3 separate regions of the Homo sapiens genome follow, and all the other regions are linked to region 1. The links are contacts of gene promoters, found by promoter capture Hi-C in blood cells and fetal thymus (Javierre and others, 2016). All regions are on one chromosome and are shown on one strand. Each heading gives the region's core, a stretch centred on a gene start or on the middle of the fragment in contact. The rest is flanking DNA. Distances are from core to core; before and after follow the strand shown.

Region 1 (3,661 bases), core at 727-3,226:
TCGGCTGTAGCATTTAAACTGATCCATCAGAGCACAAGAGGCTCTATGGATGAAGGAACAAAAGGGAGGATGGAGTTAGAAAATTTCTTCCTCCCAAATATATACACATAACATCTGTCTTGAACTTGTTCTGACAAGGCACGAAGCTAAGGAAAGAGTCCCGTGAAGGACCTCACCTACCACACTCCAGGATGGTGGAAACTGCTTTTTGACAGGGGCTGAGGAAGCACCACTCAGAGTGACACCCTCTGAAAGTGGAAAGTGAAAGAACGTCAAGACTGGAAATCATTATTCCAATAAACTCAAGGCTAATAACCATGCAACTGCAAACAGAAATGAACACGTGCAAGGGAAGGCAAAAGCATGCCTCCTTGTTCTTTTGGAAATAACTTCCTGACTACTTGGTAACTCTCACAGGAACCCCTACACACTTGGCATGGTCTCCCCACTGGCACTTTTGTGAGCCTACAGGTCCTGTTTGCCACATCACTGTTGTAATCCTGATGCACAGACAGGTCAGCTCTGCAAGCACAGAGACAACCAAAGGCATGTGCGAAGCCTTGCTGACTTTTCAGGAGGCTGGCAAGGTTCATCACAGCCTCACGTGGGGACCTAGTACATGGTTTCCAAAGTGAGATCAAACTTGGTTCCAGATACCAGAGGTTAATACTGTCCATGGCATGAGGTGGTGTGTGTTCCCAATCAGAGGAAGGATCACAAACAAGAAGCAGGCCCAATGAATGAAGCCTCTGAAGCATTTCCTACACCAGCATCCTCAAAGTGTGGTGCAGAGAACTCCTAGGGATCTCCAAAGTCAAAACCATTTTCCTAGTAATAAAATGTTACTTGCTTTTTTTCATTCACACATTTTCAGGAGTATACAGTGGAGGTCTCAAGAGGCTACATGATATGTGATATTGCAACAGACTGCAGAAGCAGCTATCAGAATCCAGCTGTCTTCAATTACGCTTGACATCAAAGAGATTTGCAAAAATGTAAAACAATGCCACTCTTCTCAATCATTTTCTGTTTTGGGAAATATAGTTCTTTTTCATAAAAATAGGCAATGTTAAGATATAATTAGTTCACTATTCTTTTTAAATGAATTATTATAGTACAAATTTCTCAGTCTTACTTACATATTATAAATATGGATAGATATAACACACATAAAAGCTCCTTAAGATACTAATTTTTAAGAGTGTAAAGGAGTACTGAGTACCAGAAAAGTTTGGGGACTTCTGTCCTAGAGGTTGTCCCCCAGGGAAGAGAGTTACATGTGTTGCAAGAAGGAAGATGCCATTATGATGTGCTAGCTGAATCTAGAAAAAAATGACTTGGTCATAACTGCAGCCCAAGCTCCTTTCTAGATCTCTGAATCTATCATGGTGGGCTCTGTGTTCAAGCCTCCCACGAAGGGTCTCTTCCCCCTCATCCCATTTTCCCTTTACCCCTTGGAGTGGATTCCCGGATCTGCCCGCACAACTTTAGCAAGGGTTTCCCTATCCAGCCAGCCGGGCCTGGGCGAGGACTCCCAGTGCGGGCCTCACACCCTCGGGGTTAGGACTCCCAGGACTGGCCGCACACCCTAGGCAAGGACTTTCAGGACAGCACGCACAGCCAAGGCTAAGAAGGGTCTAGGAAAGCCACTTCCAATCCCTGGTTTCTCTCCCCGGCATGACATAGACTGGGGACAGGGTGGAGACGTCAGTCGCCAGAAACACGTCCCCGATTCTCCTCTCAGCCTCCCCAAGCTCGCCTCCGTGTCCCCCGTGCCGCCACTGCCTCGGGCACCTCGGTAAAGGCCCGCACCGACTCTCGAGGGATACAGGGTGGACGGCGCTCCCGCCTGGGGACGTGGGTCGGGCCGCGTCGGTACTCACCTCCGACTGCACGGCGGGGCTCCCGCGACCGGCGAACCTGACCCAAGCAGCGGGACGCGTTCCCGTGCGCTGCGCGGTTCCAGCTGCCGCCTCCACGCTCCGCCCCCTCTCGCCCCCGGGGCCGCCGCGCGATGGGCGGAGCAGGGGCGGGAAGGGCGGAGCAGGGGCGGGACGGACGGGCAGCTAGCCGAAGAAGGGGCGGAGCCTGCGGGCGCCCCCGCGGGCCTGGAGGACTTCGCCCCGGGCTGGAGGCTAGGGTTGCGAAGGGCTCCTCCGCTGGAAGTGGGAGGGCTGATCCCTCGGCCCGGGTCCGCTTCTGCCAGCATGGGACCTGGGACGAGGGTGTCTGTTGCTCACTTTGGAGCTTAGCATGTGACTCCCCAGCCGGCGTTAGGAAGTGACCAAAGGGTGGGGAAGAAATGGAATTATTTTTAAAAAATGATTTGGCCATAACTGGAGAGGCTTCATGTACGTGTGGTCACTTGGCCCGCCTCCCTTCTCACTTTGTCCGTCCCCACCCTACCCACCCTCTCCACCCTCGCCTTAATTCTTTGCGCAAAGCCTGCCAAGTGGACATCGGAGTCACGCTGTCAGAATAGGACTTCAGCATTTCCGTGGCAAAAGTTCTATATGTAGATTTCCTTGGACATGTAACAACACTTTCTAATGCACGATGTTCACCGGTCTGAAGTCGGAGAAATGGCTGGGAGATGGCAGCAAGTGGGCTTTCACAAGATCTGCTTTTCATGTTGGTAGGAGTTGTGCCCTCTTGGGTGAATGGCGTTCAAAGAAGTGATTAGATCTTTCTAGATGAAAGGTGGTGAGGTTTTCCTGCCCAAATTATTTGGAAAGTTACTGTAGTTTTCTGAATAAGCAGCTTATAGGATGAGTAAACAATAGCCAGTACTAATAGCCCCCCTGCTACTTTATACTGCCCTCCTATTCTGCACAAAGCCCTGTGATCGACTCTTTCCACGTTATTCAGTTCAGCTCTTCCAACCACCTTACAAGTAAAGAATATTACCCGTCTTTGCAGGTGTGCAATGCGCAACAGCTGAGACTCAGTCCTTAGGTTGGTTTGACACCAAAGCCTACACCTTCCCTGTCATACTGCACTATAGGGTACAACTATCGTCTAGTTATATTTAACTTTGAAATATAAATACTTATATTTATTTTGAAAGGGGAAGTAACTGTATTTCCAATATGAGAGGAGACTGTTTTCCCACCCACTTCCTAAATCCTTTCCATTCACATTAGTAATTAAATTTTCTTTGAATGTCCACCATATGGCAGAGGTGCACCACAATCCCTGAAAAATCATGCTCCAGTCCCCTTGGGAGGTAGGGAGAGTAGGGGCAAGGTGAGAGTGAGTAGAAGGCTGGGGAAGTCCGATGAGGACACATCCAGCTAAATTGCGATTCTTAATGAGGCAGCCATTCGGAAAGCAAAGTATCTAATGTTCAATGATAACATCCGTGTAACTGAGAATCCTTCGCAGAAAACAATCAAATCAGAGCTATGAAGGGAATTGAGATTTATTAGTAAGCACGCTGGTCAAAACCGTGAAGGAAATAGTTCCACATCCCCCCAGTCTGTTGCTCTTGGACGTTGTCACCAGTGACGTGCAGATCGTGAATCCCAGGGCCTGTCCTCTGTTCCTGTCCTTACTCACTACTCTGTGGTATTTGACACTGGCGATTCGTTTTCCTAGAAATGTTAACCTCCTTTTGGCTTTTCAGCCCTCCGCTCTTAGGAGTCACCTCTTCCCTCTTTTG
Region 2 (3,367 bases), core at 22-2,521, 480 kb before region 1:
CACTTATCTGACCACCTACACACCAGGACTATGGGCCTACCTCACCCACCCCAGTTGTAGGTAGAACAAGAACAGCAGCTCTTCCCACAGAGGAGGAACTGCCCAGTGGTGCTTACCATGTGGGAGCAGTAATGGAAGAGATGGTCTTTACCACAGTGATGCCGCCCACCAGTAATGGTGACATAGTGAGTGTGAACTCCCACTCACCGATGATTCCTTTCCTTGGTGGGAAGTGAGTAAGGGGTAGGAGATACCAGAGAATTCCACTCTGAAGAGTGGGGAAAAGGCCCTTCATCTACCAGCTGGGACTTACTACAAGCATAAACATTCCTCCCCTCCCTGGCATCAGTTCTGAAAAGTACTGCTATTGTGCTATTCCTTGGAGAATGTCTTGCGAAGTAATTCGAGATGTGATGATTGGGGAAGCAAACTTAAGCTGAAAAGACAGTAGATATTTTCCCTCCCCTACTGCCTGTGTACTTGCATAAAGGATACTGGAATCTTGATTGGAGAAAAATGTTATGACTGGAAAGCTCCTCATGGATAACCTGCAAATCAATCTTTGGTTTATGCAAGGCAGCACCTGTGCCTCTGTGCTGATGGTGCAGATGTAGTAATGACCACGCTGAAATGCCAGCTGCAAGCCTGGGATTTAGGGAGCCTACTCTTTCCCTGGGGTGGGGGTTGGGTGAATCCAACTTAAAGAAAAACAAACATATGAGAGGTTGGCGTGGAGAGACTGAAAAGTCTGTGACTACTTGGCTTGTGAAAATTGCCTTTTGTTTCTGAAACAATATTATTTGTGAAGAAAATTCAACTCTCCCAGTGTAAGAACTCTTCTTTTTGTATTTGTATTTTATATTGGAATGCACTATGGCAATGATTGAAAAACACCGTGAATGAATTTGGGAATTAGGCCAAGTTAGGTTTAGGATCTAGCTCCATTACCTATCAGGGGGACCTTGGCTAAGTTACGTCACTTCTCTGAGCCTTGGTTTCCTCACTTAGAGTGAGGACAGTTATAGCCACCAGTCAGGGTTGTTGCACAAATTACAGATATTGAATGTAAAGTTCTGGCCCAGAATGAATTTTGATGACGATTATGTTTTTTTCTAAGTGCTTTACCCTGCATCACAGTGGGTGGATTTGCAAGCTTTATTTTTGCACAACACTAAATCCAGGGGGATATTTGTTTCTTTATGTGGTCAGAAAAACTAGGTCAGATTTTAAAGTGGGAATTAGGAGATCATGTCCCAGAGAAATCCTTTCTAATCTGTATTGGTTTTTCTAGAGAATTAGATCATCCAAACATCTGCAGATTCACTGGAGGCTGTATTGCACTGCCAGATGTGGTTATTGTGATGGAATACTGCCCAAAGGGAAGCTTGATGGATGTTCTGCTCAATGATAACATCTCTTTCAACTGGGGATTTTGGTAGGAGCCAGACATTTGAGTGGTAGGAGTCACAACCAGTGAACTCCTACAACTAAGCCCTTCTTTGATCAACATTCCTAAGGCTCATTGCCATGTGAATGCGTTATCTTGGAATCAATTATCCTGGAAGTGAATGCAATATCTTGTGTTATATCTTGTGGCATGGATGGGCAGGTTGGTATACCTAGACAGGGAAGACTAGAGGAAATAGGATTTTGAATGAGGTCCCTCTCCCCCAACTGGTGCCCAGAGGAGACCTGGCTAAGTAGAACATTCTGTTTAGAACATTGTTTGGCGTAGCTATAGGCCACAGCAAATAGTCCTGACAAGACGAGCAGTAGGTCTAATTAATTAATCTAAGAAACACTATGCTAGACACTGTAGGTAATAAAAATAAATGAGAAAGATTTTCTGCCTTCAAGAATGTCTTGGTCCATTGGGGAAGGCAAATAAGCAGAGTTACAGAACAGCGATAGAGTTCCTAGGGGTATGTCAGGTGCACAGGAGTGGCATCTAGCCCAGACTGGGGATGGGAAATGGGCTTTGGAAGGTTTCCTACTGGCGGTGAGCTGGGGAAGGGTAGACATTTCTTCTTCTTGTTTTTTTTGACAGTAGCCATTCTAACTGGAATGAGATGACATCTCATTGTGGTTTTGATTGGCATTTCCCTTCCTCTTCTCAAATATGATCAGCTACAGAGATTTGATTACCTGAACTCTGGGATACAAGTGGAGAACAGGCCAGGAGTTCAAGCCAGGCCAGCAGGTCAAGCCAGAATTTATGTGGGCACAAAATTGATGATGGCCCAGAAGGGGGGGTAATCCTCACTGAGTCCAACAGTATTAGGCTGGAGGTCTTGAAACCCCTTCTGCCTTGAATCGGGATTGGCACTACAACATTCCAGATAAGGTGCTTTGGTGGTAGCTGTGGGGATGTAAGGCAGACAGACTTGGATCCTGTTAGCTACTCTTCTGGATGACACTTTCCTTTTAGAAACACTTTCAGGTTCAGGAAGCAAATGAGGTGGAGCCGAATAGAACTCTAAGAAAACTGAACTCGAAGACTTTCTAAAAATACATGTGTGTGATACTATGCTTCTCTCTTCCTTCTCCTCCATGTTCTTCTCTTTCTTTTTCTTAATTTCTTCTTCTAACTCCTTCTTTTCCTTTTCTCTATTCATATTTGTTGTGGGTGCATATTGAGAAGTCAATTATTTATGATATGTAAGTTCCTCCTAAAAGATGTAGGGAGCTTTGTTTTTGTTGCAAAAGTTTATTATTTTTGTTCTGGAATTGATTAAAGTATCACCTTTCTAAGAACATTGGAGGCCTGAGTCCTGTTCTCAGCTCACATGGAGTCCTTTGGCATGTCCAGGTTTTCTTTGCCTGGACGTTGCATAAGGAATGGCCTATCTTCATCAGTGCAAAATGTACCGTGGGAAGCTAAAATCTACTGACTATGTGATTGATGGTTGCTGAGTTTGTAAAATTTCAGGCAAAGGGAAAAGCATCATATTGGTATACATGCTTTCCTAGCAACAGAGTATGTTTCCTTCCGGAATCACTTTTTAGACACGGTCTGTTTGGTTTTGACAATAGCTATCATTTATGGAACTATACAAAAGGCTAGTGTTGGGGAGGGATGGGGATGTCAGCAAATTACAGCCCACAGCCCGTATTTTTTGTTTGTTTTTAATTCTGCAGCCTGTTTTGGTAAATAAAATTTTACTGGAACACAGCTATGCTCATTTGTTTATGTATTGTCTGTGGCTGCTTTTGTGCTACAATAGCAGATTTGACTAGTTGCTACAGAGACTGTATGGCCCACAAAGCCTAAAATATTTATCATCTGGCCTTTAAAGAAAAAGTTTGCAGACTCCTCTTCTGTGGCAAGTGTTGTACATGGTTGCCATATATGGCTGCTTAGGCTGTG
Region 3 (3,532 bases), core at 922-3,421, 500 kb before region 1:
TATATTTAGATTTGCATTCCGATTCTCCCTTATCTTTTCTTCTGAGTTAGTCTGTATCAACTCTTGGCAAAGTCATGAGGCTGTTATTACATTGTTATTTGTGTGTGCACATATACAGGCATGCACACATGTACACGCACACATATACATGCACACACACTTTCTCTCTTTCTTTCTCTCCAACTGGTATCTTAGGGTAGGATCAGGTACTGAACTCCCAGCTCCTCTACAGCCTGACTCATAACACTCAACTTTTGGGCTCTCTTTTATTAAACAGTTACTTTTTTTCCTACCTGTTCTGTCCCCTCTTCTCAACCTTTATGGATATATGTGGTTTCTGGTTGATTAAAGGAATTATTATATGACGTCTAAAGCCTGACTTTAAATTGGATAACAGGTAACACTGAACACATATGAGGAAGGCCCCCTTCTCATGATTGCCTCATTGGTCCACTTCCTCTCATATTTGGGACCTTGGTCTCTACCCTTCCCCGATCTTAGCTCTATTGCTTATTCTTAAGAGCCTTCAGCCTCCATAGATTGCTAGGAAACAAGGTCTGAGCACCCAAAGAGAATTTCCTGTTATTCTCTTGTACAATGACAGTGAAGAGATTTGATAAAAGCTGAGTGAATTTTTAGTCTAGGATGTTCTGTTCTTAAGCTATAATTGCTGTTTTTTCCTTTATCTCTAGAAGTGATCCTGCCAGACAAAAGAAACTTTGTTTTCATAAGTGTATTATTATTTTATCAAAAATTTCTCCTTTAAAATGCATGATTAAAAAAGGATTTAATCATTGAAGATGGTTTCATTTTGTCTTGGGATTGGTTTTATATGACTCTCAGAGGGGGAAAGTTCACTTTAAAGGTGAACCTTCTGGGATGCATTTATTCTACAAAGTGAGGCACACCTGATCGCAGTAAATATAGAGAAGACCATGAAGTTCCCAATTTAAGAATAATTTAAGATTGAAAAATGTTAAATCGGCTCTTGGTTTTTAAGGTCTACCACCTAAAAATGTGTATTAATCTTCAAAATTTAATATCACTGAGGGTAGCATAAGAGAATAAGGATTAAATGATACTGTGGAAAGATTTAAGTTAGATATTCCAAGCTTTGAAAGATTCAGAGATGCCAGTATCCATCCATGGTCATAGGTGGGAGGAGTTTTATCTTGGAATCTGTAATAAGAGAGCAAATAATCTGTCTCCTTGTTTTACCCCTCCAGGAATCAACCCCATGATTCAGGGTTGTTTCTCTTTAATCAATCATACGCCCTTGGTTTTGAGTATTTTAATCTGGATGAGGGATGTTGTTTTAAGATTAATGGAAAATAAATATGGTTCATGAGCTATATTTTTCTTGCTGCCATGTACTCTCTAATGAGGTAAATTACTTCTCCTTATTCCAGTGGAAAGATCAAGTTCAATGTTTAGTACACCAAACAGCCCTAGGGTATTTATCGTGTATTATATATTTTTTCCTTTTGCTCTACAGCTGCAACTTCATGGATCTGTGCTGAAGATACCCATAGATCCTGGGGTTCCCAGAGCAACAATGCATAAACTAGAAAGAATCAGCTGGAAGGGATGGAATGTACCTTGGTTGTCTGATCCCTTGTTTTATTGCTATTCCCGGTGGTGTTGGTCCACACAGGTGTGACTTCTCTTATTGCCCATATCAGAACTGGAAAGAGGTAAGCTGCCCTGGAAGCCTAAACACCATGCTACCAGCAGAAGGTAAGGAAGCGGAGTGTCTGTTCAGCAGGTCTGAAGGTGACTCTAAGCTCTGTGAAGGCAGAGCTTGCTGTACCCACAGTGCCTAGCACCATTCCACAGGCACCCAATAAGTGCTGTTGAGTTTCTAAAGGTGGTTTATTGTTTCATGGCCAAACTTGTCTCCCTTCTTCAAGGGTCTTGGCTGAGTCTCTACATAGAAGCTCTAGTGATCTCTGCATTACAGCATTCAGAGTTTTTGCCTGGACAACCAGAGATGGTGAAGCTCTGCAGGCCTGGCTGGGTTTTAGAGTCAGGACTGGCTTTGGGAGTACAGGGAAGCCTGCAGACAGCATCAGAGAAGCCAGAGACTAGACCCAAGCTGATCTGAACATCAATCTGAAGGGCTGGGACAGAGGCAAACTCAGGTTTGAAGCACAGAGATGGAACAAGTAGACTTAGAAGATAGGGCAGGTGGTCACCTTGGATAGACTCCAAAGGGCTTGACTGAGACAGGGCTTTTGTGAGGCAAATGCATCCTCATTCAGGATGCTGAGCCTCTGAGAACAGAGTAGCTTTGGGTAGCAGCTTTTTCTACACACACCTTGATGCAGAGCCCCATGTTCCCTACCCTGCCCCCTTTAAGAGCTTGCTTTGTTTCCTGCCTAAGGAAGAGGAACTCTGGAGGTCCTCCTAGAACCCAGATAAAACTCAGGCTTTCATCTTCCCAGCAGGGAAGCCAGTTCTAGAATTGGCTGTGGCTTTGGCAGAGACCATCAGTACTATTGCCTCAATCATCCAGCTCCCCACGACTTCCCGCAGGCCTGAGATTGAAGCCAAGACCCATAGGCCCAGCCCTCTAGAAAGCAGGTTTGTCATCATTACCGGCCCTAGGAATTCACAAGCAGATCCTCCCAGCTTTTCCTCTTGGTGACTTCTGAGGGCATCACAGATGAAGCCTTTGTGCCAGATGGTCTCACGTTAGGCCCTGTGAAAGGAGCACTCACAGAGCCGTTGCACCTTTAAAGAATTGCCCATTTTCGATACCTGGCATATCACTTGAATAGAAGAAGTTTAACAGAATTAACAGTCTGTGTCTGGATGCAAGATGGTTTTAACCTACAATATATTTAGGGTGCTGCCCGTGCACCCCAGGGCTCCTTGAGGCAATTAAAACCGTGCCCTTGGCAATGTGGCTGACTTCAGTGGCTCTTTTGCCAGAGTTACAGCAGTTTCTCATCATGTCTGGAAGAGATTAGATTTGTGTGGTGTGGAGAGAGGACGCTTCTGACAACATGATAGGTCATGTTGGTGGAATTGTGGCAGGACCCAGAGTGCTCCCAGAAACTTCATTTTCTTCCAAACAAATGTAAATGGGGTTCAATTTACTGGTCAAATTCAGCAACTAGAAGAAATTACATAAACTGTGAAGCCACAAGGAGCAATTTTACTAAAAGTTATGTTGGCCTACATGGAGAAATTTAGGCCATGGAAGACTCAGGACCATTTTAAGCTTTATGTAGACTCTTTTGGAGGCATCATCACTTAGATCAAACGAATTAAAATGCACCCACATCTTGAATTAAATGTAAAATTTTCCATAAAAATGTTGAAGGGATTTTTATATTTTTGCCTTTGAAGTTATTTGCCTATACATGATTATTCAATTTACAATTGTCTGTGTCTACTCTCCCGAGTAGGCATAAATCAATCAGTGTGCCTACTCAGGAATTCTTGCAAAACAAGAGAATCTAATCTACAAGTGTTCTCACCTGTAATAAATTTATAAATGAATAATAAATTTAACAATGACATTGAC

The links. Contacts are between HindIII fragments. The CHiCAGO score rates a contact against its expected background, and 5 or more counts as called.
Region 2: a fragment that was not itself captured here is called in contact with the fragment with the promoter of ACO1 in region 1 in 2 of 17 cell types (M2 macrophages and M1 macrophages); the score reaches 6.8 in M2 macrophages.
Region 3: a contact is called between a fragment that was not itself captured here and the fragment with the promoter of ACO1 in region 1, in 1 of 17 cell types (M0 macrophages). The highest score is 5.5, in M0 macrophages.

The regions. Positions count from the first base shown.
Region 1 is chr9:32,382,958-32,386,618 of GRCh38, reverse strand. ACO1 (aconitase 1) reads right to left here and starts at 1,976. Exons shown (of 21, transcript NM_002197.3): 1 at 1,884-1,976. RefSeq lists a silencer at 1,796-2,175. The HindIII fragment of the contact is 14,350 bases long and covers 1-3,661 here.
Region 2 is chr9:32,863,128-32,866,494 of GRCh38, reverse strand. No RefSeq gene overlaps it. Among named protein-coding and RNA genes, the nearest start is that of TMEM215, 81 kb to the right of the region's middle. The HindIII fragment of the contact is 231 bases long and covers 1,156-1,386 here.
Region 3 is chr9:32,885,210-32,888,741 of GRCh38, reverse strand. No RefSeq gene overlaps it. Among named protein-coding and RNA genes, the nearest start is that of TMEM215, 100 kb to the right of the region's middle. The HindIII fragment of the contact is 2,114 bases long and covers 1,115-3,228 here.